Regions from separate parts of the Homo sapiens genome. Here region 1 is linked to region 2. Evidence: promoter capture Hi-C in human tissues and cell types (Jung and others, 2019). All regions are on one chromosome and are shown on one strand. Each heading gives the region's core, a stretch centred on a gene start or on the middle of the fragment in contact. The rest is flanking DNA. Distances are from core to core; before and after follow the strand shown. Region 1 overlaps RGS7BP (regulator of G protein signaling 7 binding protein). Region 2 holds the start of RGS7BP (regulator of G protein signaling 7 binding protein).

Region 1 (5,916 bases), core at 91-2,590, 45 kb after region 2:
GTCACTCCTTCAACACTTAGAAATCTTTTCAGCTAAATACCCAATGTCATCGCTTGGTAGTTCTACCTTCCACAAAACACGAGAAAACAGTTCAGCCAAGTTTTTTGTTACTTTATAACAAGGATCATCTTTCCTGCAGTTTCCAAAATATGTTCCTCATTTCTGTCTGATACCTTACCAGAATCACCCTTAACCTCCATTTCTGGCATGTACATTGAAACTCTTCCAGCCTCTACCCATTACCCAGTTCCAAAGCCACTTCCACATGTTTAGGTATTTGTTATAGCAGTCTGCTCTGACTGCCATAACAAAATACCACAGACCAGGTGGCTTAAACAACAGACACTGATTTTCTCACAGTTATGAAAGCTGAACATTCAAGATCAGGATGCCAGCATAGTTGAGAGCCAGGGCTCTTTTCCTGGCTTGCAGATGGCCACTATCTCACTGTATTCTCACTTGGCAGAGTGAAAGAGAGAACAAGCTTTCTGATGTCTCTTTTTCTAAAGGCACTAACCCCTCAGACTAGGGCCCCACCCTTATGACCTCATCTAACCCTCATCTAAATACCCCATCTCCAAATACCATCATCACATTGACAGTTACAGCTTTAACATATGAATTTGGTGAGGGGATTCAGGCCATAATGTAGAATATTTCTCACTTTGTAAAACAAATGCATTTTTTTAATTTTATTATTATTATACTTTAAGTTTTAGGGTACATGTGCACAATGTGCAGGTTTGTTACATATGTATACATGTGCTATGTTGGTGTGCTGCACCCATTAACTCATCATTTAGCATTAGGTATATCTCCTAATGCTATCCCTCCCCCCTCCCCCAACCCTGCAACAGTCCCCAGTGTGTGATGTTCCCCTTCCTGTGTCCATGTGTTCTCATTGTTCAATTCCCATCTATGAGTGAGAACATGCGGTGTTTGGTTTTTTGTCCTTGCGATAGTTTGCTAAGAATGATGGTTTCCAGTTTCATCCATGTCCTTACAAAGGACATGAACTCATCATTTTTTATGGCTGCATAGTATTCCATGGTGTATATGTGCTGCATTTTCTTAATATATTAAAAATGAAGTGTTCAAAATTATATAAATATTATTTTCTAAAGCTTTTAAACCAGAATACAATCATAGCAGCAATTACCCATATTGAATGCTGGCTCAACTGAGGTTTCATTTCCTTGAAACACAAGTCATTTCTACCTACTCTCTGTATTGGGTTTTCTGCTTATTTGTCACCCATATTCAAGAATGTTCCCCCTTCTGCCAACACAGTGTTAAAACAGACAAAGATTACTGTCTATAGAAGCATCCTGTGTCTTAAGGATTTTTTTTATTTTTTTATTTATTTTTTATTTTATTTTTTTTTTTTTGAGATGGAGTCTCACTCTGTCTCCCAGCCTGGAGTGCAGTGGCGCAATCTTGGCTCACTGCAACCTCTGCCTCCCCAATTCAAGCAATTCTCCTGCCTCAGCCTCCCGAGTGGCTGGGATTACAGATGTGTGCCATGACGCCTGCTTAATTTTTGTATTTTTAGTAGAGACAGGGTTTCACCATTTTGGCCAGGCTGGTCTCAAACTCCTAACCTCAAGCCATCAGCCGGCCTTAGCCTCCTAAATTGTGTGTCTTAAGGATTTTTATGGGAGTCACCCTATATTAAGACTATAGAGTGTGCTTCAATTCATCTTTAGACATCAAGTATTTAGAAAAAATATTTCAAATCAGCACTTGACTATTAAGACCAAAGGGATTATTCTAAAGAGCTTCTGGCCGTTTTTAGGTCTGGAAAACACAGCATGTTTTTCTGCATTTTGTTGAAATTTCTTTCTTTCCTTTTATTATATGTTAAGCAGTTATTAATAATTACTTTGTCCATTATATATTAGTATTCTATTCTTTATAGCTAATCTAAAATCTTTTACTTTTTAAATTTTAAGATCACTTTTCAATTGTTCCAATTACATATCATCTGGTTCATATATAGTTTCTTCTAAAAATATATTTGTTCAGCTGACATCCTTACAGTAAGTTCATCAGTATACTAAAAACAGAAGCAGGTTAGCTTGACAACTGCATGTTTGATACCTTATAAACTGGATTAGAATTTGTATTAGAAGCTGGATATGTGCCTTTATCAAAATTTTTGAAAAAATAAGGCATCTCTTCACTTTTTATCTGCATAACTAACTTTCCTTATTTTCAAGGTATATTTTAAAGTGTATTCAACACTCAATAAAATATGTCTTTTGATGATCACAAATGGTGATAATGTGGTCTAATGTAAACAGTCTAGAAAAATTTATCCCCTAAATAACATCTCCTAAAATGGTATTTTAAACTGTATCTATTAGAAAAAATTTCTGTTCTTATTTTCAGAAATGGTTACTCTTTTTTCTTCTCCCAATTCTGATTATTTTTTCCAAAGTCAGTAATATTTTCTAAATAGCTTTCCAAAACTTAGTCAGTTTTTAGACTATCTTAACTACTTCTGACATTTTCTTAATTATTTAACTTATGAAGTAGAAAGTATCTTATTGAATTTGAGGGAATACTCTTTTCTTTTTCTTGTTTTCTTTCATCTTTGTACTAATTTCTCAACAAAGGAGAATTAGAACTGACTCGACATACCTAACATATCTTCATTTTGAATTGCCTCTATACATGAAATAAGTGTTTGTCCTGATTTGACATAATCTGGAATGAGAATTTCCACTCTGCATCATCAACTTTTATCACCTGGGTCTGAATTTAGATTGTGGCTTTCTGGCCTTGTAAATGTTGCTATTTTCTTTCCATGGTGTCTATTGACTATTTTGTCAATTTAGAGGCTTTTGATTCTGTTTTGTTTTGTTTGAGACAGGGTCTTGCTATGTTGCCCAGGCTGGTCTCAAACTCCTGGGCTCAAGTAACCCTCCTGCCTCAGCCTCCCAAGTAGTTGATTCTGTTTTGAAGTAACATGGGACAGTTGCAAAAGCCCAGATAATTTGAAATCAGGATGTTTTTGTTTCACAGTCTTGTGCTGTCCAAAAGAAAATAAATTATCCGGACTTACTTCTTTTCTTCCTCCCTTAATAATGGCTTCCATGGGAGAATCAATGTCAGATTTGCACCTACAACCTATAACACTTAAATGTCAGTCCTTATTAATGAACCTCTAGTATTCTTGTTTTTTAGCCTGCCTTTTATTTTTGGAGCTTTATAGTTAATCTTTCAGATGACTTAGTGTAACTTGAATCTGTAGGACTTCCTTCCTTTCTTTCTTTCTTTTTTTTTTTTTTTTTTTGAAACGGAGTCTCACTCTGTCACCCAGGCTGGAGTGCAGTGGCATGATCTTGGCTCACTGCAACCTCTGTCTCTCAGGTTCAAACAATTCTCCTGCCTCAGCCTCCTGAGTAGCTGGGATTACAGGCATGTGCCACTACACCCAGCTAGTTTTTGTATTTTTGTAAAGATGGGGTTTCACCACATTGGCCAGGCTGGTCTTGAATGCCTGACCTCAGGTGATCCACCTGCCTCGGTCTCCCAAAGTGCTAGGATTACAAGCGTGAGACACCATGCCCAGCCCCTTCCTTTCTTCCTTTATTCTTTTCTACATTCTTTCTTTCTTTTCTTTCAAAATGACACTTTTTTTTTCAAAATGTCAGCCAACATTTTGATAGCATGCTTGCACCCAATGTTTAGTGTAGTAGAAAGAGCCTAGGCTTTGGGGTTACAGTACCAATCCTAGGCTTCATAGTTCTATGACCCCTGAGAATTAACCAAGTCTCAGTTTCCTCATCTTTAAAATATTAATAATATCTATACATCATAAGGTCTGTGTAAGATTGAGTGAGATAATGTATCTATTTCTGGCAAGACACTGGTTAAATAACCCTAAAACAAACAAGATAGTTAAGTTGTACAATGTATACAAACACCCTCTTAAATGTATAACTAAGCTCACAGGAAAGGAAGAGAAATCTTCAGGGTCAAAAATGAATAGGGAACAAAAAGTGAGTTGAAAGGCAGCATGGTCTGATACTATGGCTTCCCTGAGGGAGTTCGTTGACTCCATTAAAAAGGGGCTTGTAGTTAGAAGATCATATGGGAGCAGGAATTAGAACTGAGATATACACATAAAGTCATTTGCTGGATATCTGCTCTTTGACCCTCCAAATCTGCTCTTTGCCCTTCTCCACCCTATATCATCCCACTCCCTTATCCTCTGGATTTCAGTTTGGCTTGGTCAATCGGGAACTCTGGCAGGACATTGGAAGGAAGGAGAAGAGTTAAGCCAGGGTATTTATTCTCCCGTTTCCCTCTCTATAAGGTTATTTTGAACTGTCTCCCATAACTTCAGGTCACTGTTCTACACAAGGAGGCCTGCACTATACAACTGTTTCTCCTTTCAGGTGCCAGGAACCTCTTCCTCCTCTCATCCTTCGTAGTGACAGCACCATACAGCCAACCTCAAATTCCTTGGTGTTTCTGTTTGCCACCCATACCTTTGTAATTACTCCCTGTGTAAAGAGATGCTCTTCAAATCATCCATTTGTCTCCTGTTACAATTCTGATTCAAGCCAGGATTTTCAAAGGGCTACATGCTTAGTGAAGAGGTAGGGAAAATGTACCACCAGCCCAAGAAGATAACTAGGATGTTTGCTTGACTTGGCATCCTAAGAATCATGACTATGCTGTTGTTATAGTCCAAAAGCAATACATCTCGGGAATCTACAGATAAAGTCTGCTGAATATGAGATCACAAGTTAAATTGTAAAACACACAAGGAAAGAATCTAGCAAAGGTGAAAGTGAACATGCAAAGTCAACAGCAGGATTTAATCCTTCAAGTGCTTTAGTTAATACCATTACCTGTTAATGACTTAGAATAAATATGTCAAATTATTAAAGACACAAGAGAAGAGTTGAAAACATGAGACAAAAGAGTATGTAAAAAGACCAAGCATACTTGGAAAATAACTCGTATAAATTCTAAAAATGAATATATATATACAAAATATATGATTATTAAAATTAAAACCTAATGGGTATATTATATACAGCTAAAAAAGGTAAACTGGAAGATGGATCTGAAGAAAATGCAACAGAGAAATGTAAAGATATAGAAAATATAAAAAGGGATTAAGAAGACATGAAGACCAGAATGAGAAGATCCAACATATTTCTAATAAGAGTTTCAGAACAGGAAAATAGACAATGGAATGATACCACAAAATACTAAGGACAAAGGAAGTTTTTAAAAGCAACAGGAGAGAAAAGACATTTCCTACAGAGGAACTACAATACAATTAAGCTTGAAGTGAGTCTCTCCACAACAAAAATAGAAGCCAGATGACAACAGAATAAAATGTTTAGCAGATTACAGCCAATGAACACCTTGCCACACTTCGCAATTGGCTGTTTTCTTATGAACTAAAGGAGCTCATCACATTTTAGACAAACATATTTGTCTGTTTTACTCAATGTGTATTTGTTTTGTTTCAATAGTAGTTTATTTTTTACATAGTTGAACCTGTTGATCTTGACTAAAGTTTTTTTAACCTTCAAACAAGAAACTTTAAGTAAAAATGCAAAAATGTTTTAATGCTTACTGAAAAATACAATGGGGGAAACTGCACTGAAATTCTAGGGGATATAAATTAGAAAGAAATTAAGGAGTATATAAAATTAGTAGGAACTATTGCCAGAGAAAAAGAAAATGATTACCTGGGATTTATAGCAAGGACTTGAGCTGAAAATGGACAAAGGGTATGAACAGACAATTGAAATAAACAAACACAAGGAAAAATATTCAACTGTGTTAATAGTTGAAAAAGCACATGGTAAAACAAGAAATTGAATTTCACACATTGTAAATTAACAAAATGTCAAAATTTAAAAACATTCAGTTCTGGTAATTCTG
Region 2 (5,750 bases), core at 2,978-5,477:
TTGATCATGCCCTTCAGATCTCCCTAGCTTCTGGAATTCAGAATCTTAATGTATTTTTCTCTGCCTCTATCAGAGACCCACTCATGTAAGGGCCCCCCCTTTTTTTCACTTCTCTGAACTTTATTCCCAGATGAAACCTGCCTCCTACTATCACCTCTCATGAGAGGCCAATCCATTATGAAGTGTTCATTTCTGGGTCCCACTACGGTTCCCTACAGAACCAATTTGAAGAAACTCAGCAATTGCTCATATTCATTCTAAACTGATGTTCTCTGATGTTTCTTAAAATTTCAAATCAAAATGAATTCTCAAAACTATCACAGAGAGAACACAAAATGTAAGGTATATCTTATATTGGAGTGAATCTAGGATGTGACTCTTGTCAAAGCCATATACCTATAGGTGACCAATGATCAGGCATGTGCCAAAATCGGGTCTGGGTAATCAAAATATGTGCCTGTTGTTGAGATTTCCAACTACACTTTACCCTTCTACTTGGCAGTCAGACAGCCTCAGGAATGTAAATTCATGCAGTTTTGAATGTGGGGGAAGGTTAGGAAACTAAGCCTGCCTGCTGCTATTCTGATTACAGCATTTGTCGCTGGCTGGGAGAGACAGCTCTGAGATTGATGCTATTTTTCTCCCTTCTCAGGAAAATGGCTTGGGCTGTGTATCAGGGAAGGCCAAGGGGCACCTACGAGTGAAATTTCCGCTTAATCCCCCAGCAGGTTCCCAAGTCAGTAGTCTTTCAGACGTGGCATTGCATTTGACCTATTCATTCCATCCCCCACCCCTGCCCCCCAGCTCCTGCAAGAAATATGGCATAGAAATAGGGCAGTGCAATTATATTGCCTTTTTTTCTTTTAATTTGTTGAAATTGTCTCTAGGCAGAAGAAGGGAGGTGGGGGTTAGAAACCAGATGGTTGTAACTGGAGTAGAAACCTACTACTGAGTAGGTTTAAGACGCTCAAATCTGGTAGAAGTGGCTATTTCCTCACAGGAAAAGGGGATGAATCAACAGAGCCATGGAAAAAGATTTCCAGCAGACTGATCTCCAGTGTCCTATCCTCTTCAACCCATGTGCACACACATGTAAAAGGTAGCCCCTTTTCCCTTAGTTCTCCAAAGCACCACCAACAATGGGTTATAGCAGACTTTTCCTGAAAGTTGGGTGGAGAGTGCAGGGGTAAGCTAGTGACAGTGAAAGAGGTTTATAACACAGGACTTAAACCATCTACAAATGAATATTATCGATCCTTCTTTAAAGCCCCTCAGTCTCTCTGTTATCTTCCTCTTCATCATCCCAAGCATCCTCACCCCTCACAAAACCCCAGGCACCTGATGTGTTTTTCTGCTTCTCTCTTTACACGCGTTAAGTAGAAAGAAAATTGGGGCTGGGCACAGAGCCTCATGCCTGCAATCCCAGCACTTTGGGAGGCTGAGGCAGGCAGATCACCTGAGGTCAGGAGTTTGAGACCAGCCTGGCCAACATTGTGAAACCTTGTCTCTACTAAAAATACAAAAGTTAGCCGGGTGTGGTGGCACGTGCCTGTGGTCCACTCAGCTCAGGTTGTAGGAAGGGGTTCCTACAACCTCCTTCTCAGATTTGGTAATTCACTAGAATGACACAGCACTCAGGAAAGAGCTTTTCTTACTATTACCAGTCTATTCTAAAGAATACAACTCAGGAGCGGCCAACTCAGGCATGTCTGTGGAACTACTCAGAAGTCTGCACTACAGCCTGGGAAACAGAGTGAGACTCCGTAGAATGAACGAATGAACAAAAGAATGAAAGAAAGAGAGAGAGAAGGAAGAGAGAGAGGAAGGAAGGAAGGAAAAAAGGAAGGAAGGAAGGAAGGAAGGAAGGAAGGAAGGAGGGAAGGAAGGAAGGAAAAAAAGGAGGGAGGGAGGAAGGGAGGGGAGGTAATTGAGATTGCAGGAAAGAGAAAGGGTCAGGGAGCTGACTAAGCACTAACCTGTTATCTTCTTATATTTGGGGAGATTCAACCAGCAGAAGAGCCCTTTCTCTCAGTCTCTGGGACATCTAAACACCTGGAGGATAGCAGCACACCAAGGTCTGGGCCTGAGAGCTGATGCCTCCTTTCTCTAGTCTTTGATAGGGAAAACTCACTCTCAAGCTTGTGTGAAGTTCTGGTCAGGCGCAGTGGCTCACACCTGTAATCCCAGCACTTTGGCAGGTGAAGGTGTGTGGATTACTTGAGCTCAGGAGTTCAAGACCAGCCTGGGCAACATGGCAAAACTCTGTCTTTACAAAATATTAGGTGGCATGTGCCTGTAGTCTCAACTACTTGGGAGGCTGAAGTGGGAGGATCACCTGAGCCCAGGAAGTTGAGGCTGAAGTGAGCTCTCATGGTGTCACTAAATTCCAATCTGGGTGACGGAGCAAGACCCTGACTCAGAAAAAAAAAAAATGTAGCCAAATATCCACTCAGTGATCCATCTGTTAGGTTTTTTTTCCTTCCCACCCAAATACATGATGTCTTTTCCAATAGCACTTCTCCAACTCTCTAACACCAATTAGGTGGCCTACAACTCATTTCTGGCACTAACTACCCAGAGTTAACGTCAGATTTACAGGTTTAAGGGCTCAGTCCCACAAGACTGCCCTCATCTCAGAGGCCAGTCACAAGTATGGGATCCACAGGTTACCAACTCTTCTCTCCATCTTGGCGACAAATTCAGGGGTTCCTATAACCACCTTCTCAGATTTGGTAATTCACTAGAATGACTCACAGCACTCAGGAAAGAGCTTTACTTACTATTAGCAGTCTATTCTAAAGGATACAACTGAGGAGCAGCCAACTGGAAGAGAAACATAGGGCAAGGTATGGGAAAAGGACATGGAACTTCCATGCTCTTTCCTGGTGTACCACCCTTCCAGCACCTAGATGTCTTCCACAACCCAGAAGCTCCCCACACTCTATTGTTGTTTAGGAGTTTTACAGAGGTTTCTTTATGTAGGCATGATTGATTAAATAATTGGCCATTGGTGAGGAACGCAGTCACTAGCTCCTCTCCTATCCCCTGAGATTGGGGGATGAGGCTGAAAGTTGCAAGCAACTAATCAAGGCTTGGTCTTTCTGGTGACAAGATGGCTTATCATAATAACTCAGGCAATTTCTAAGGGTTTTAGGAGTTCTGCCCTAGGGACTGGGGACAAAGACCAAATAACTCTCTTATTATAGTACCCCATTATATTTACTTGTCTTGTAGAAAAGGTTGTAAAGCCACCCTCCTTAGGATATTAACCTTCCTGGCTATTTCAGGCTTTCTCTTTCTATGTACTCTCCATATCCCTTTAACAGACTGACCAGGAACCTCTAATCTGTTCTTATTAGGATTACTAATACATAACTAGTTTTCCTATGGGAGACCCCTTTATCTCCCTCTCCAAACAAATCATTCAGGAGAACAAGCATCCTTAGAGCCTTAGAGTTGAATGCCACAACACTCTCTCTTCCTCCCAGAAGAACCTTAGGAAGATGTCAGTGGGAAGGGTGAACTTAAATGGCTGAGGGCCTCACCCCCACTCCTTTCACACAAGAATCATCCCCGATTTTCTGGGCCACCTCTGTTGGCCTCTGGGTTACTGATATCCCATAAGTGAGAAGAAGGTCATTTTGAGTGTCCAGGGAGATCTCTTGGCTCTTATTTGTTCAAGTCTCCGGAAGGGAACTCTAGGAGCTGAGTCCTGAGACCCTGCAATGCAAGACCAAGAGCTTTACTACTTGAAATGGGATGGGGATGAGGCCCAATCTGAGTGAATGCCTCTGTGCATTCTGCCTCACTGGCTCTCCTCTTTCCCCCTCCATGAACAAGGACAAAATAAAAACAAAACAACTCAGGGAAACAAAGCTCTCCTTTTAGGTTATCAAGAGGTCTTCCATTTGGAGCAAAACCTCACTCCCTCCTGTGGCCCCTGTCTCAGTCTCAGTTGGTGAGGGCCTCAAGCCCACACTGGCTTATTTGAAATCCATGTTTAGGTCCCAGCATGTGGCATGTGCTCCACTCTGATGACACTTTTCGTTTCTAATAATAGAGCAGATGAAGTAATATTGCAATTGATGTTCCCGGGGATTTGATTGGATAAGTGCATAAACTGTGGAGGGGGAAGGGGGTTGCATGGACAGATCACATTAGTATTCCCGTCCTATCAATGTGCGGGCCCGCGAACAACGTCAGCCGGACCGATTCTCTGCGTCTGCCAGTCCCGCCACAGATTCATCTGGGATCTTCAAACAGACAAGCCCTTAGAGACGAGGGATCAAGGCAGCCGATTAGAGCCAATTGCTTGCTTTGGGGACGGCCAGTCCTTCCAGGCCTGGCGACAGTGGAGGGAGGGGAAAGACGAACCGAGTGCCGCTGCGGGAAGACACTGAAGCAAGAGCGACACCCCTTTCCGCCCCCCACCTTGCAGCGCAGGCTTTGAAAGCTGCTCCCCCACCTGAATGGAAACTCGGAACCGCCGGGCGGCGCGTTCCTTCTCGCCCAGCCTTGCAATCCATGCCGAGAGGAAGGCAGTGCGAGCCCGCGCCAGCGCCCAGCTCCCGGGACAGGGTCGGCAATGCTGCTGAGCAGAACTTGATCGCGCTCCTTCCTCGCTGCTAGTGGAAGCGATGCTGCACGGCACAGCTAGCGCTTCCCCGGCTCTCCTTCAAGCTGAAGGTTACCGACCCGCGCAGCCAGCCCCAGCACTGTGAGCTGCGCGCCTCAGGTCCGGGCTCCGGCTGCTTGGCGGCGGCGCCCAGGGCAACAACCGGGCCGCCCGCGCCGGGGCGCACTGCACCAGCGGCTTCGGCTTGGTGGATGTGTATGCATGAGTTCTGCACCGAATGGGCGCAAAAAGCGCCCCAGCCGGTCCACCCGCTCCTCGATCTTCCAGATCAGCAAGCCCCCGCTGCAGAGCGGAGATTGGGAGCGCAGGGGCAGCGGCTCCGAGAGCGCCCACAAAACCCAACGAGCCCTGGACGACTGCAAGATGGTGGGTGAAAACTGCGCCTCTTTTTTTTTTTTTTTAATTGAGAGGGGGTGGGGGGAGTCATGTATGTTAATCATTTGCCTGAGTGCCAGCCACTCCCCCACCCTCAGCTCCTCAATGCCGATCACGTGGCACATGCACTATTTTTAAATCTGCAGTCCCCCAAATTCAGGGTGACACCCTGGTCGTAATAACCCTGCAGAAAGAAGTGTGACAGCAAGGGTCTTGGGGATCAGCGGCTGTAGGTTGTGCCTGTACCCCCTCGAAGAATGGTGGATGCGAAAGACACAGTGAACTGGCTCGCTCACGGAGGAGGGAGGGATGAGGAGGTGGGGATGCTGCTTTCTGGGGACAGAGTAGCAAACAAACCCAAATACAGCGCACGGGGCGCTGCGGAGGGGTCGAAGGTTCCAGCGCAGAGGCTGTAGCTGGTCTTCCCGTCAGGCCGTCAGGCCGAGAGGTTCAGTGGCCCAGCAAAAGGTGAATGGTTTGCCTATTACACCCTACCTGTCGCCTCCCCCGCCCCTCCCGCCGTGCAACTTAAAAGCCATGTCCTAGCAGTAGGAGAGGGGACCGTCTATGTAGGAGTCCCCAGCATCATTCTCTGTTGGCCTGGGAGTGGCATGGTAGCGCTCCAAATATGCTCTCTTGCTCTTCAGAAACTGAGTCTGAAAGGGTGAGGGGAAGTAGGTCTGGAAATAGAGCTTCCATGGCCAGGCTTGCCTATGGAAATAAATACTTGCCTTGGACA

What was found. The method cuts DNA at HindIII sites, captures the fragments that hold promoters and counts their contacts. A contact is called where the count stands out against the background at its distance.
Region 1: a contact is called between a fragment that was not itself captured here and the fragment with the promoter of RGS7BP in region 2, in 2 of the 25 tissues and cell types used here (H1 embryonic stem cells and dorsolateral prefrontal cortex).

The regions. Positions count from the first base shown.
Region 1 is chr5:64,549,893-64,555,808 of GRCh38, forward strand. All of the region lies in intron 2 of RGS7BP (regulator of G protein signaling 7 binding protein), which reads left to right. Among named protein-coding and RNA genes, the nearest start is that of RGS7BP, 47 kb to the left of the region's middle. The HindIII fragment of the contact is 3,749 bases long and covers 1-3,215 here.
Region 2 is chr5:64,501,788-64,507,537 of GRCh38, forward strand. RGS7BP (regulator of G protein signaling 7 binding protein) reads left to right here and starts at 4,228. Exons shown (of 6, transcript NM_001029875.3): 1 at 4,228-5,002. The coding sequence starts at 4,838. The HindIII fragment of the contact is 10,674 bases long and covers 971-5,750 here.